Linked DNA regions of Homo sapiens: region 2 is linked to region 1. The links are contacts of gene promoters, found by promoter capture Hi-C in human tissues and cell types (Jung and others, 2019). All regions are on one chromosome and are shown on one strand. The core of a region is centred on a gene start or on the middle of the fragment in contact, and the rest is flanking DNA. Distances in the headings are between cores, read along the strand shown. Region 1 holds the start of FGFR2 (fibroblast growth factor receptor 2). Region 2 overlaps FGFR2 (fibroblast growth factor receptor 2).

What was found. The method cuts DNA at HindIII sites, captures the fragments that hold promoters and counts their contacts. A contact is called where the count stands out against the background at its distance.
Region 2: a contact is called between a fragment that was not itself captured here and the fragment with the promoter of FGFR2 in region 1, in 1 of the 25 tissues and cell types used here (hippocampus).

The regions. Positions count from the first base shown.
Region 1 is chr10:121,596,962-121,603,339 of GRCh38, reverse strand. FGFR2 (fibroblast growth factor receptor 2) reads left to right here and starts at 4,896. Exons shown (of 18, transcript NM_000141.5): 1 at 4,896-5,378. RefSeq lists an enhancer at 5,690-6,378. The HindIII fragment of the contact is 2,645 bases long and covers 3,763-6,378 here.
Region 2 is chr10:121,551,241-121,557,618 of GRCh38, reverse strand. FGFR2 (fibroblast growth factor receptor 2) reads left to right here. Exons shown (of 18, transcript NM_000141.5): 5 at 6,160-6,329. Among named protein-coding and RNA genes, the nearest start is that of FGFR2, 44 kb to the left of the region's middle. The HindIII fragment of the contact is 4,656 bases long and covers 2,801-6,378 here.

The DNA of each region.
Region 1 (6,378 bases), core at 3,647-6,146:
CCTGTAATCTCAGTGCTTTGGGAGGCTAAGGAGGGAGGATCACTTGAGGCCAGGAGTTTGAGACCAGCCTGGGCAACATAATGAGACCCCTGTCTCTACAAAAAATACAAAAATTAGCTGGGCATGGTGGTGCATGCCTATAGTCCCAGCTACTCAGGAGGCTGAGGTGGGAAGCTTGCGTGAGCTCAGGAGTTGGAGGCTGCAGTGAGCTGTGATTGTGCCACTGCCCTCCAGTCTGGGTGACAGAGAAAGATCCTGTCTCAAAAAACCGAACCAAACCAAAACAAAAACAATTAAGTGCCGGGTGCGGTGGCTCACGCCTGTAATCCCAGCACTTTGGGAGGCAGGTGGATCACTTGGTGAAATGCCATCTCTACTAAAAATATAAAAAAATTAGCCGGGCGTGGTGGCAGGCGCTTGTAGTCCCAGCTACTTGGGAGGCTGAGGCAGGAGAATCACTTGAACCCAGGAGGCAGAGGTTGTAGTGAGCCAAGATCACGCTACTGCACTCTGGATGACAGAGCAAGACTCCATCTCAAAAAAAACCAAAAAACAAAAACAAAAACAAAGGCAAAAACAAAACAACCAAAAAAACCCGAACAAATAAAAAAACAAAAACAAAGAAAAACTAAGTGCTTGTCACGTCCTAACTCATTTCATCCTCTTAGTGATCCTATTAAAGATCTAGGAGAGGCCGGGTGCGGTGGCTCACGCCTGTAATCCCAGCACTTTGGGAGGCCGAGGCGGGTGGATCACGAGGTCAGCAGTTCAAGACCAGCTTGGCCAAGATGGTGAAACCCCATCTCTACTAAAAATACAAAAAATTAGCTGGGCGCGGTGGCAGGCACCTGTAGTCCCAGCTACTCAGGAGGCTGAGGAAGGAGAATCATTTGAACCCTGAGGGTGGAGGCTGCAGTGAGCCGAGATCGTGCCACTGCATTCCAGCCTGGGTGACAGAGTGAAACTCTGTCTCAAAAAAAAAAAAGAAAAAAAAAATCCAGGAAATAAGAACCATTATTTTCCCCATTTTACAGCTGAGAAAATGGAAAACTCAGATAACTCAAGCAACTGGCCTGAGGTAACACAGCGTTTGTTTGTTTGTTTGTTTGTTTTTTTTGAGACGGAGTTTCTCTCTTGTTACCCAGGCGGGAGTGCAATGGCACGATCTCGGCTCACCGCAACCTCTGCCTCCTAGGTTCAAGTGATTCTCCCGGCTCAGCCTCCTGAGTAGCTGAGATTACAGGCATGTACGACCATGCCCAGCTAATTTTGTATTTTTAGTAGAGACGGGGTTTCTCCATGTTGGTCAGGCTGGTCTTGAACTCCTGACCTCAGGTGATCCACTTGCCTCGGCCTCCCAAAGTGCTGGGATTACAGGTGTGAGCCACCATGCCAGGCCTTTTTTTGTTGTTTTTTGAGAGGGAATCTTGCTCTGTCACCCAGGCTGGAGTGCAGTGGGGCGATCTCAGCTCACTGCAACCTCAGCCTCCTGGGTTCAAGCGATTCACATGCCTTAGCTTCCAGAGTATGTGGGATTACAGGCATGCGCCACCACAAGCGGCCAATTTTTGTGTTTTTAGTGGAGACGGCATTTCACCATGTTGGTCAGCCTGGTCTCGACTTCCTGCCTTCAAGTGATCCGCCTGCCTCGGCCTCCCAAAGTGCTGGAATTACAGGCGTGAGCCACTGCGCCCGGCCACAGGTCACAAAGCTATTGAGTAAAGAAAGCTGCATCCAGCCTCTCACCTTAAGAAAGCCATTCCCCTTTGCCTCAAAGTGAGGCTATACTTCCAGAAGGACTTTGTCTCCGGGGAAGCCTTGGCTTTGGAATTCAGGCCCAGTTCTAAGTTTAAAATCATTGATGCTGTTCAGTAGTGGGATCAATGATTTTGCTTCACTTAAATGCCACAAGCTCCCTGAAGATGGGCTGGAGCTGTCACAGCATCCAGCCCCTCCCCTTACCCAGAAGTAAATACTCTTATCATAGTCCTCCGACTATTCTATATCCTTCCATTTGAGTGCTTCTTTTATGCCGAGGGCACTATTGAGATGTAGCTTAGAGAATGAAATTCCTGGTGTTGCAGGGAGCTCAGATCCACCCGGGAAGGTTCATGAGCACTTCATGTCAGCAGCCTTTATTTCATCTAACGTTTCCATAGAGTGAAGGAACAGCCACCCATTACAAAACAAATTATTAAAAGAAAAATTCCAAATCTTCAAAGGAGAGAGGCCCATGGTAGTGAGCGCTCCCACCCCCTTCTCCTTTCTCTTCCCATCACCAACGGGCTAGCAGCACAATTTGTTTCTTGAAACTTTTGGGGGCATCGGAGTTCTGGTGTCCTCATTTTTCTTCCTTCCCATTGATGTATCATTACTAGAGTGAAAAAAGAAGGGCGTCTCGAGGGCTTTTGAAAAAAAAAAAGGGTGACTACTCAAGACATTTTGTAAAGGGGGGAAAATTGCGAAGAAAAGAGACCTCAGTAGGGGGTGGAGGAACTGTGAATGTGTCCTTGTCTGGCGGTTCTTTCAGCTGAAACCTGGTGCTGGCGTTCGCAGTTCAGTTCAAACTGTCACCTTTAGTTCTTACTGGCTTTTCTGCCCTTGCCCCAGAACCTCAACAGATTGGGGCTTATTTACCTATTCACACTCCGCCGTGGAAGCTCATTAATAGGCTTTATTAGCAACACCATTCATGGGAGGCCATTGACGAAAGGGGTTCCAGCCACTTGAAGAGGGAAGAGAAAAGAAAAAACTGTAAAGAGATTATTTTCTCATTCAGAAGCCTCAGTGGTGTGAAGGTTTTCCTGGATGGTCTGAGGTCACTTGAAGACTAAATATGGGGACATAATTGATTTTTTAAAAATAATTCTAAACATACTTCCCCCCCCTCCTCAAAACTGAAGAGTTTCCTGTTGTGGTCTTGTGGGTTTCAGTCCCTTATATATGAGCCCTCTTTAGGGAATAAGGAGCTTTTGATAGATTGGTGTCTTTTCATTTCTATAAAAAATACATTCTGCAAACTGTGCCTGGACATGAAAGTAGGTGTTCTTATTTGTCATTTTCAGCGGAAAGCTTCCTTTCCATTCAACATGCATAAAGCTATTGATGAATGGGGGATAGGGACAGCGGCTTCCTGCACCATTAATTTATGTGAGAATGTGTTAACAGCATTTTCAATGGCTGATGGATGCGGTGTAGGATGGGAAAGGAACTGTCCTGAGACACTCGAGTTTCCCATTGGTGGGGAATATAAAGATGTAAGTGGCAACCTGCGAGCAGGCAGACACGTTCAGCTGCATCCCTTTTCTGAGAACTTGAAAACATACTGCTATCAGAACAACCCGTGTGGGAGTGAATGGCTAAGTGTCAACCTGGGCTGAGGTGTCCGTTAATGTATAGGCTCTGGGGCTAATCCAGGTTAGAGGACTTGACCAAAAACATACCCTCCCACCAAGCATATAGAGGGATAATTTTGCTTAAGAACCAGTTTTTATTTTGTTGCTATCAAATTTCCAAAATACAATGTTATAGCCTTTTGCCTGAGGCAGTTAAATGGATTTCTTACTTGTGTGGCTTTTAAATAACTTGCATAAACGTTTTCTGTGCTATATTTGTGAATAAAAATGATTTTCTAATCATGTAGCACCTTGAAAAATATTTTTGTAAATGTTATGAAGGGTGCAATGTTAGTGACACAGGTGCAAATATGTTTCTAAATCCAGGAAAAGTCTGTTTTCCAAGTCAGGTTTGTTCTCAATGCTTCATCTATCTTCAGGCCTCAAAAGGATTCTAAAGCATTTCTGGGTTTAGTGACCTTTTCTAAAGAAAAATAATTAAGGTTTTAATCTATATGGTCTTGAACTTAAGCACGGCTGCTCAGGAGCTGGATGAATAAGGAGGGAGAAAAAGCATATTTAAAATAAATTATTCCGAAGACACGGCTTAGTGAAAAGGTAAATGGACATAGGAACTTTAACCAGTTACAGCTTGGTGTGCAGTTGAAGAATCAGATTTTGCATTTATGATTTTTAATCTAAGATTCAGAGGGAGGAATTACTTTGTTCAAGGTCTATTTATGGTAGAGTTGTCTTTAGACTCCTTTGAATTTCTTTTTATTAATCCAAACATATATTATTAAACACTTTTTTTTTTTGATGCAATTTTGGCTTTTTCTGAGAGAGCCACATTCAAAGTCAGGCTGTCCTAGTAGCCAGCTGTGTGGTCCTAGGCAAATTACTTAACCTCTCTGATCCTGTTTCCTTATCAGAAACTGGGAATAGTACTCTGCAGGGTGGTTGGGCAGATGAAATAGAATCACCTATGTAGTGTGACCCTCCCATAGTAGGGCCTCCATTAATATTCAGTTTTTTCCTCTCATTTCTATTGTTTAGAAGGACAGAAACATGCAATGTCCTGCGAACATTTCCAAGTGGCTTCCTCTCCTCCAAAAGCTTCAGCTGCCTGGCAACCCTCCCCGCAGTATCAAGCAGGCGCATTTTAAAGTCTCTTTAGCGGGAGGGCAGGGTTAGAGCCTTCGGTCATTTGTTTTCTAACTTGACATAAAACAACGTAACGCAGTCGCTCAGCGAGCCGTTGGCCAGCCTCGCTCGCCCGGGGAGGAGGGAGGAGGTGGCGCGGGGCGCGGGACCAGGCCTTATTCGGAGGCTGTCGCTGCATCCCTACGGCCGCATCGCGGCCGAGCCCTCGCCTCCCGGGCCGGTGTCTCCGGCTGCTCGGAGGCGTCGGGAGCCGCGCGGGACTCGGGGCGGCCCGGGCGCGCGGCGCTGATTGGCAGAGAGGGCGCCGCCGTCCAGGAAACGGCTCGGGTTTCAGTGGGGGCGTGACCCGCCGCGAGGAGGCGGGGGCGGCGGCGGCGGCGCGGGCGGCGGCTGGAGGAGAGCGCGGTGGAGAGCCGAGCGGGCGGGCGGCGGGTGCGGAGCGGGCGAGGGAGCGCGCGCGGCCGCCACAAAGCTCGGGCGCCGCGGGGCTGCATGCGGCGTACCTGGCCCGGCGCGGCGACTGCTCTCCGGGCTGGCGGGGGCCGGCCGCGAGCCCCGGGGGCCCCGAGGCCGCAGCTTGCCTGCGCGCTCTGAGCCTTCGCAACTCGCGAGCAAAGTTTGGTGGAGGCAACGCCAAGCCTGAGTCCTTTCTTCCTCTCGTTCCCCAAATCCGAGGGCAGCCCGCGGGCGTCATGCCCGCGCTCCTCCGCAGCCTGGGGTACGCGTGAAGCCCGGGAGGCTTGGCGCCGGCGAAGACCCAAGGACCACTCTTCTGCGTTTGGAGTTGCTCCCCGCAACCCCGGGCTCGTCGCTTTCTCCATCCCGACCCACGCGGGGCGCGGGGACAACACAGGTCGCGGAGGAGCGTTGCCATTCAAGGTAATCGCCGCGCAAGACGCCTCGGGGAGCTTCGCCAGCCGGGGACGTGGGCGCCACGGGAGCCCGGGACGCCGGGTGCACCGTCCTCCGGGCGGGGGGCGCGGAAGGACTAGCATTGTGGAGGACGCTCCGTGTCCTCCCTCTGTGGCTGCATAGGTGATGGGGGAGGTGGGTGCGTGCTGACGGCCGGCGTTCTGGAAGTTCTGCCTCTGCTACCCCCATCCAGATGCTGACATCTGCTTCTGGCGTTGACGCCCCCCTCCCTGTCAAACCCTGGCGGGCGCATTCCCGCTGACTGGGCGCGTTTCTCCGACCCCAGAGCAGACGGGCGGAAGGTTCGCCTGCCCGTGGCACAGCCCCGCAGGCCGGTTCCCGGGGTCATCTCCGAGGTGCCCCATCCGTGTGTCCTGGGAACTTCCGTACCATCCAGGCCCTGCGGAGACCCCTTTTTCGGGAGGGGGCCGCTGGGGTGGGGCCGGTGACATCCCGTAGGGGTGGCGATGGCCAGGGGTGGCACTGCTGGGGAGGCGACGGCTCCGGTGCCTGGGCGCCCCTCGCCCGCAGCCGCCGTCGGCGCTGGAGGGAGCGCAGTGCGCCTGGGGCTAGGGGGCGAACTGGACCGACTTTTTCTAGTTCGCCTGCCTGCTCTGCCGCAGCGGCTGGGAGATGTCGAAAGCGCAGGCGAGTTCTAACTTGCGCGCTCATTTTTTTCGGCCACGGGGCCGCGCTGGGGAAAAAAGCCGAGGGCCCTGCGTGGCGCTGGCTCCGACCCTCGCGGACCACGGACCTGGCGCAGGAGGCCCGCTCGGGGACCACCAGCCTCCGTCGCTCTCCTCGCACCCCGCTCCCTTGCAGACCGTTCTCCAGACCCTCCTTCCTTTCTCCCAATTCAATAAAACCTACCCTTAAAGGCAAACCTGCTTTCAAACTCAGGGCACCCATTATGTGTTTGGTGTGAAACGCTATCAACATTTAAAACTCCATTGTCTCCCTGGTCCCA
Region 2 (6,378 bases), core at 3,879-6,378, 46 kb after region 1:
TAAGTTGGTTTGGGCCAGCATAGCAGCTCGCACCTGTAATTCCAGCTAGTTGGGAGGCCGAAGCAGGAGGATCGTGTATACCCAGGAGTTTGAGACTAGCCTCGGGAGCATAGCAAGACCGCATCTCTACAAAAAATAAAAGATTAGCCAGGTGTGGTAGCTCATGCCTGCAGTCCCAGTTACTTGGGAGGCTCAGGTGGGAGGATCACCTGAGCCCAGGAGGTCAAGGCTGCAGTGAGCTGTGGTTGTACCACTGCAGTGCAGCCTGGGCAACGGAGCAAGACCCTGTCTCTTAAAAAGAAGAAAAAGCTGCTTTTGGTATTTTATCACAAATACTGTTGATGGTGTTCCATCCAATGGTTGGACTGAATATCTTTCTCAGTCTCCTCCTTGGTCAAACAGCATAGCCAATGATTGGAGAAGTTTCCTTTGAAGGCAGATCTTGGGAATTCCCATGGGCTAACTGGTCTGCTAGTGGGCTCAGTTCTTTCACTTGTGGTTAACTTGCTTGGTTTTGAAAACATATATTTCTGATTGAATGCCTGGCTGGTTAGCAAGTTTTTAATGAGATTTCTCAAAGCCACAGACATACCCCCTCATAATCATATCCTCACTCACATCTCCGTATTTTGTTAGATTTGTTTTCTCTTAGTTTATACCAAACTGAAAGCAGAACTGCAGGGTAGTGGGGAGCTCTGAGACATTTTTCCCCTGTCAGGAGTCAAAGCATTCAAATGTCCTGATTAGTGATATTTTTAAAAGCCCTAATTATAGACTCGAGACAGAGGCTTTAGTGGGGCTTTAGAGAGTTTGTGAGACTTAATCTAGGAGCTGGAACAGGCTGTGTTTTTAAAATTTTTTGCATCCATAAAAATACAGTTGGCAGTCATTGGTGGCCGCGGCTCACATAAATCTTGAACTTTTGACTTAATTACCATGGGAGAGTTCAAAGGGCAGGCTGGAGTGGTTGAAGGAACACTGCTCAGGGAGCTGGAGATGGGCCTGGCCTCAGCCCGGCCTCTGGCTGTGTGACCTTGATCAAATCACTTAACCTTTCTGGATGACATTGATATCATCAGTCGTTGGGCCAGATGGTCACCGAGGTCTCTTTTGGTACAGCCTGGTAATATGATTCCATGTTTCTCCTTTAAATCATTGGGCCGTGTTCTCTGTTTTTTGGTTCCAGAGAGAGAGAGAGAGAGAGAGAGAGAGAGAGAGAGAGTAGATTATAAACCTTAGGTGTCAGCATTGAGATGTGCAAGGGTTTTGGTGGGGGCAGGCCCAGCAGCCTATGGTTTCTCACTAAGTTTAAATTGCAGGGTCAAAAGAAATCACATAATCCTACCATTTGTTGACAGAATCAATACCTGTCTAGCACATAGATACCTGGAAAGTATGTTCGAACTGGCGGGGACCTTAATCAGTGCAACTACTTCATTTTATAGCTAAAGCTTTTAATAGTCATCCATCCGTCCATCCATCCGTCCGTCCATCCATCCATCCATCCATCCATCCAATAACGCTTGAGTGCCTACTCCATAGGCTAAAGACAACTCCAGCTGTACCCTCCAGGTGCCCTACTGTTGTTGGTCAGCATCAGAAGGAGTATTTTTCAGTACAGAGACACTAATGTTGGAAGCACACATCTATCACAAAGAAGGGGCCCTGAGAAAGAATAACTTGGCTCTAGGGTGGGAATAATAAAGGCTGTGTTGGAGTCCTTTGAAGGAAGTTTCTGTGGGTTTATAAATCTCTCTTTAACTCATTGCATCTTAAAAGACTTCTGTTGTCTTAAAGTAAAATTCTACTTAATATTATTACTAATGTGCAATGACTGTTACAGTGTAGAAAATGATAATGAGTAGGTATGCTATATGCTGGTGATGGGATTTAATTGATGGGATGGGATTGATTGATTGTGGCTAGGTCTGACTGTTCTTTAACCAGCTCATTCTTAGTATTTGATGATTAGGAGAACATCATTCTTGTGGTACCTATTACATCAGAAGGTCTAAGAATGTCAGAGCCAAAGGAACCATACCTCTCATCGAGGTTAATTTGTTTCCTTTACAGGTGGATTAGTGTCATTCATTTTGAATGCCATTGGAAGTTTATACCACACGTCTCTATTAGCTGACTTTAAGCCCGCTCTTCATACACCTCTAAGGTATATAAAGTTCAGGGAAACTCATGTGTCCTTAGCTTGCAGATTCATTTGATTGATTGATTGATTGATTGATTGATTGAGACAGAGTTTTGCTCTTGTCGCCCAGGCTGGAGTGCAATGGCATGATCTCGGCTCACTGCAACCTCTGCCTCCTGGGTTCAAGCAATTCTCCTGCCTCACCCTCCCTAGTAGCTGGGACTACAGCCATGCGTCACCATGTCCAGCTAATTTTTGCATTTTTAGTGGAGACGGGGTTTCACCATGTTGGTCAGGCTGGTCTCGGACTCCTGACCTCAGGTGATCCGCCCACCTCGGCCTCCCAAAGGCTGGGATTACAGGCGTGAGCCACCGCGCCTGGCCTGCAGATTCATTTTAGATAAGATTGTTGAGTAAACATCCCTGTTAAGCATCTACTATGGACAAGGCTGATCTCTGCTTCAGTAGATCTTTAATTTGGTACATGAGTTCCTTCTCCAAATGAGAGTTGTTAAAGCTGTTCACGAGCCTTGGTATAAAAGGGGCTTCCTTAGGTAGAGGAGCCCGTTCTAAGTGCCTGGATGGTGTTTGTCTCCAGCTGTTTTGCAGTTCTTGGGAGGCCCTGGCATTTCCATGTGTGTCCTTTCCAACTGCAAAAACATACAGAGGACACAAGGCTGCTGATGAAGGAAACACAGTAGGGCTATCTTATAGTATTATTATTTTTCTAGATCTTACAGATTCAAGGTTCACATAAAGCTAGTGTATTTTAGGAAGAGCTATTGTAAAATTATAAAAGAGTTCCAGCCGGGCGCGGTAGCTCACGCCTGTAATCCCAGCACTTTGGGAGGCTGAGGCAGGTGGATCATGAGGTCAGGAGATCCAGACCATCCTGGCTAAAACGGTGAAACCCTGGCTAAAACGGTGAAACCCTGTCTCTACTAAAAATACAAAAAAAAAAAAAAAAAAATTAGCCGGGCATGGTGGCGGGCACCTGTAGTCCCAGCTACTCGGGAGGCTGAGGCAGGAGAATGGCGTGAACCCGGGAGGCAGAGCTTGCAGTGAGCCAAGATCGCGCCACTGCACTCCAGCCTGGGCAACAGAGCAAGACGCTGTCTCAAAAAAAGGAAAAAAAAAAAAAAGACTTCCTCCCCTCCCGTATCAAGTTCATTAAACATATTTGTGAGCTTGATATTTAAAGAGAGGCTGTGTGCTGGTGTGATGTTAGCAGTCACCAGGGTGGGGCTGGTCACACATGGGAGCCTGGGTGGAGGGTTGTGCCTGGATTTTTTATGGTGGCCCCCAACCTTGGATCTCTGAGACCTAGATGAGCAGCACTGCACCCGTACCCTGCTGTATGGCTGTGTCTGTGTTTTGCAGAAGCAGATTTTATAGGTGTAGCTTTGATGATTGAAATATCACCCGAGGGAAGTGGCTACCTGCCAGAAATTCCAGCAACATTATTTCACCTTAGTCCTTAAATCACTCCCGAGGCACCAAGACAAAGGTGCGGGTTGCCCATGGGCTGTTGCCACAGGTCAGGCCTGCATAGGTGCGCGTGGTCTGGGCCGGTCCCTGGGCTGTTACAGACTCACCCATGGCTTGGCCCAGTGAGGGCAGAAAAGAACAACATTCCTAGTTCCTTCAGCTAAATCCCACTTTTTTTTTAGGGAACATAAAAATCATGCCTAATGGTATGTAAGCACATATCTGTTGATTTCTTTTATGTAAAAAAGAAAAGACATTCCACAGGATCAGCTCAGCAGTAATTGATGTTATCTGAAAGAGTTACTGCATTAATATTTAGCTAATTCATATGAATAGGCTATTGTGTTTACTTAAACAAATGACATGAGTGCAGACACCTGACAGCATGAGGTATGCTTTTCATTTAGGTTAGATTTGTAAACGTCTTTGTGTAGTGACAAAGCTCATTATTTGTTTTGTGCTCTCAATGGTTTCTTTTTAGTGGCTGTGGCTGTGGATGGATTTTTCTAAGTAGAAGCTTTTAAAATGAAAGTTTATTGAAATTGTTTCAGTATATGCCAGGCCCTGAGAGTCTTGGGATGAATGGGAATCAAGTACTCCCTGGTGAACCCTCAAAAGAATAGGTGCGTTTATGGGCATTCAACACCCAGAGCCAAATGTCTACCCAGGTTGCAAATGCAACTGGATTCAAAGGAAGGAATTCAGCCCCTGTTCCTTCTTTCTCCTCCTTCCTCTTCTTCTCTCCTGGCTTCGATAGTTTTGCCCCTCTTCCCACTGTTTCAGCATCATATGGGTGCACCTAAATCCCATCACTTTGACACTTAGATAAGCACAGGGATAAAGATACAGCATGGCCTTGTAAAGAAATCTCAGCTCTACCTTTGACAACAGGTTTCAAGAGCAAGCGTGAAGGCTAATTGGGGTAGGTGTTTGGATGCAGCGATTTCAATTCCTGATTGTACCCTGAGTCTGGCTGCTAAGTGAAGGGGATCCTTATCCCCCAGGGACGTGCTCTACACCCGTAGAATAGAGGAGACTTCTAAATATGCATCAGAGACAAAGCCCCTGCCTAGGGCCATTTTGCCTTGGGTTTGTGAACTGTGTGTGCTGTTGTTCAGTCTAGCCTTCATCAGAAATAAGCATAGTTATGAATTAGCCTTCTACAATGTTCAAGTCCCTGTTGGTGGCTGTTTCAGAGGAATACAGGGATTTTGGTTACTACTTTGCTAAGACAGAAACATATATGTGAATAGTTAAATTGCTGTACAGTAGAGGTTCTGGACAGGAAAAAAGGAGGACGTGTGCCTTGACCCAGGCTGGCTTTCCCGGACTTCAGCCTTAAACATCAGATTGGTGGAAGGTACGGATTCCAACCTCGTGGAGAAGCTGCATCTTCTTAGCAGTGGAGAGTAGGGTTGAAGATAGTGGGCTCTGGCATCAGACTGATGTGGTTCAAATCTTGGCTGCACCTCTTCCAAGCTTTGTGGCTTTTGGCAGGTTACTTAACTGCTCTGTGCCTCAGTTTCCCCACTTGGAAGCCAAGATTATGATAGTGCCTTTCTTGTTGAAGCATTGTGAAGATTAATGTGTTGACATGTAAAAACTCTTTGAGCAGTGCTTGGCAAAGTAGAAGCTTTCAGTCGGTAGTAGTCATTCGCCATTATTAGCAGACATGAAGAATTTACAGTGGTATTCTGGCTTGATGTTGTGGCTTTTATTTAGAAAAAATATACTTTACTTTGTGATTTAAAACTTTTTTCTTGACTTTAAAAAATCACTTGTATTTATGACTTTCGGGGACATCTGGAGGGCATAACTTTAACATATCATTTAATTGGTAGCCTCCTCTTAAGTTATCATTAGGTGGGGTGGTAGGGTTATGGCATTCATAACCACCATTGGAAAGAAATTTTTTTTTTAATTAAAAAAGTTAGTATGTATTTAGTGATACAGTTTTTTTTTTTGTTTGTTTGTTTGTATATAAGTTCTGAGAAATGTACGAATGACTCTCTGGGTTATTTTATTATATTAGAATGACAATTTATACTATTGATTGCCCTTAAAGTAAGGCTCCAATGGATAAGTTGATAGGGCTTTTGAGAACAACTTGCTTTTACTAGTGTGTATATGTGATCATTTAATAGGTGTGGCAATCCAAAATGATCTATTTTTGGAGGACTGAGCTGTCGCAGTTGTATATGTTGTTCATATGTTTATAAAATAGCATTTTAAAACATGATTTGGCATGAAATTATTTTCTGGCATCAAGAACAAGAGAGAGAAGGGGCCTCAAACACTTTTTTTTTTTTCTTCCTGTTGGTAGACATGAACCATCCCTCTCTGGGACCTTCTGCTCAGCCAGCTGGATTAGACTTCTGAAAATATTTTCCAAATGTAAATATTACCCAAAGATTTAAAAAATAGCCTAGCATTTACATGCAAAGCGAAATGATCTTACCTGTTTGGAGTTTACTCATGGAGGGGAAGCTGTCCATCAGTATACATTCTAATACTGTTTTCCAAAACAGGAGCACCATACTGGACCAACACAGAAAAGATGGAAAAGCGGCTCCATGCTGTGCCTGCGGCCAACACTGTCAAGTTTCGCTGCCCAGCCGGGGGGAACCCAATGCCAACCATGCGGTGGCTGAAAAACGGGAAGGAGTTTAAGCAGGAGCATCGCATTGGAGGCTACAAGGTAGAATTAAGCTTTCAGAACATCACATTTCTTACATTTTTGTTTATTT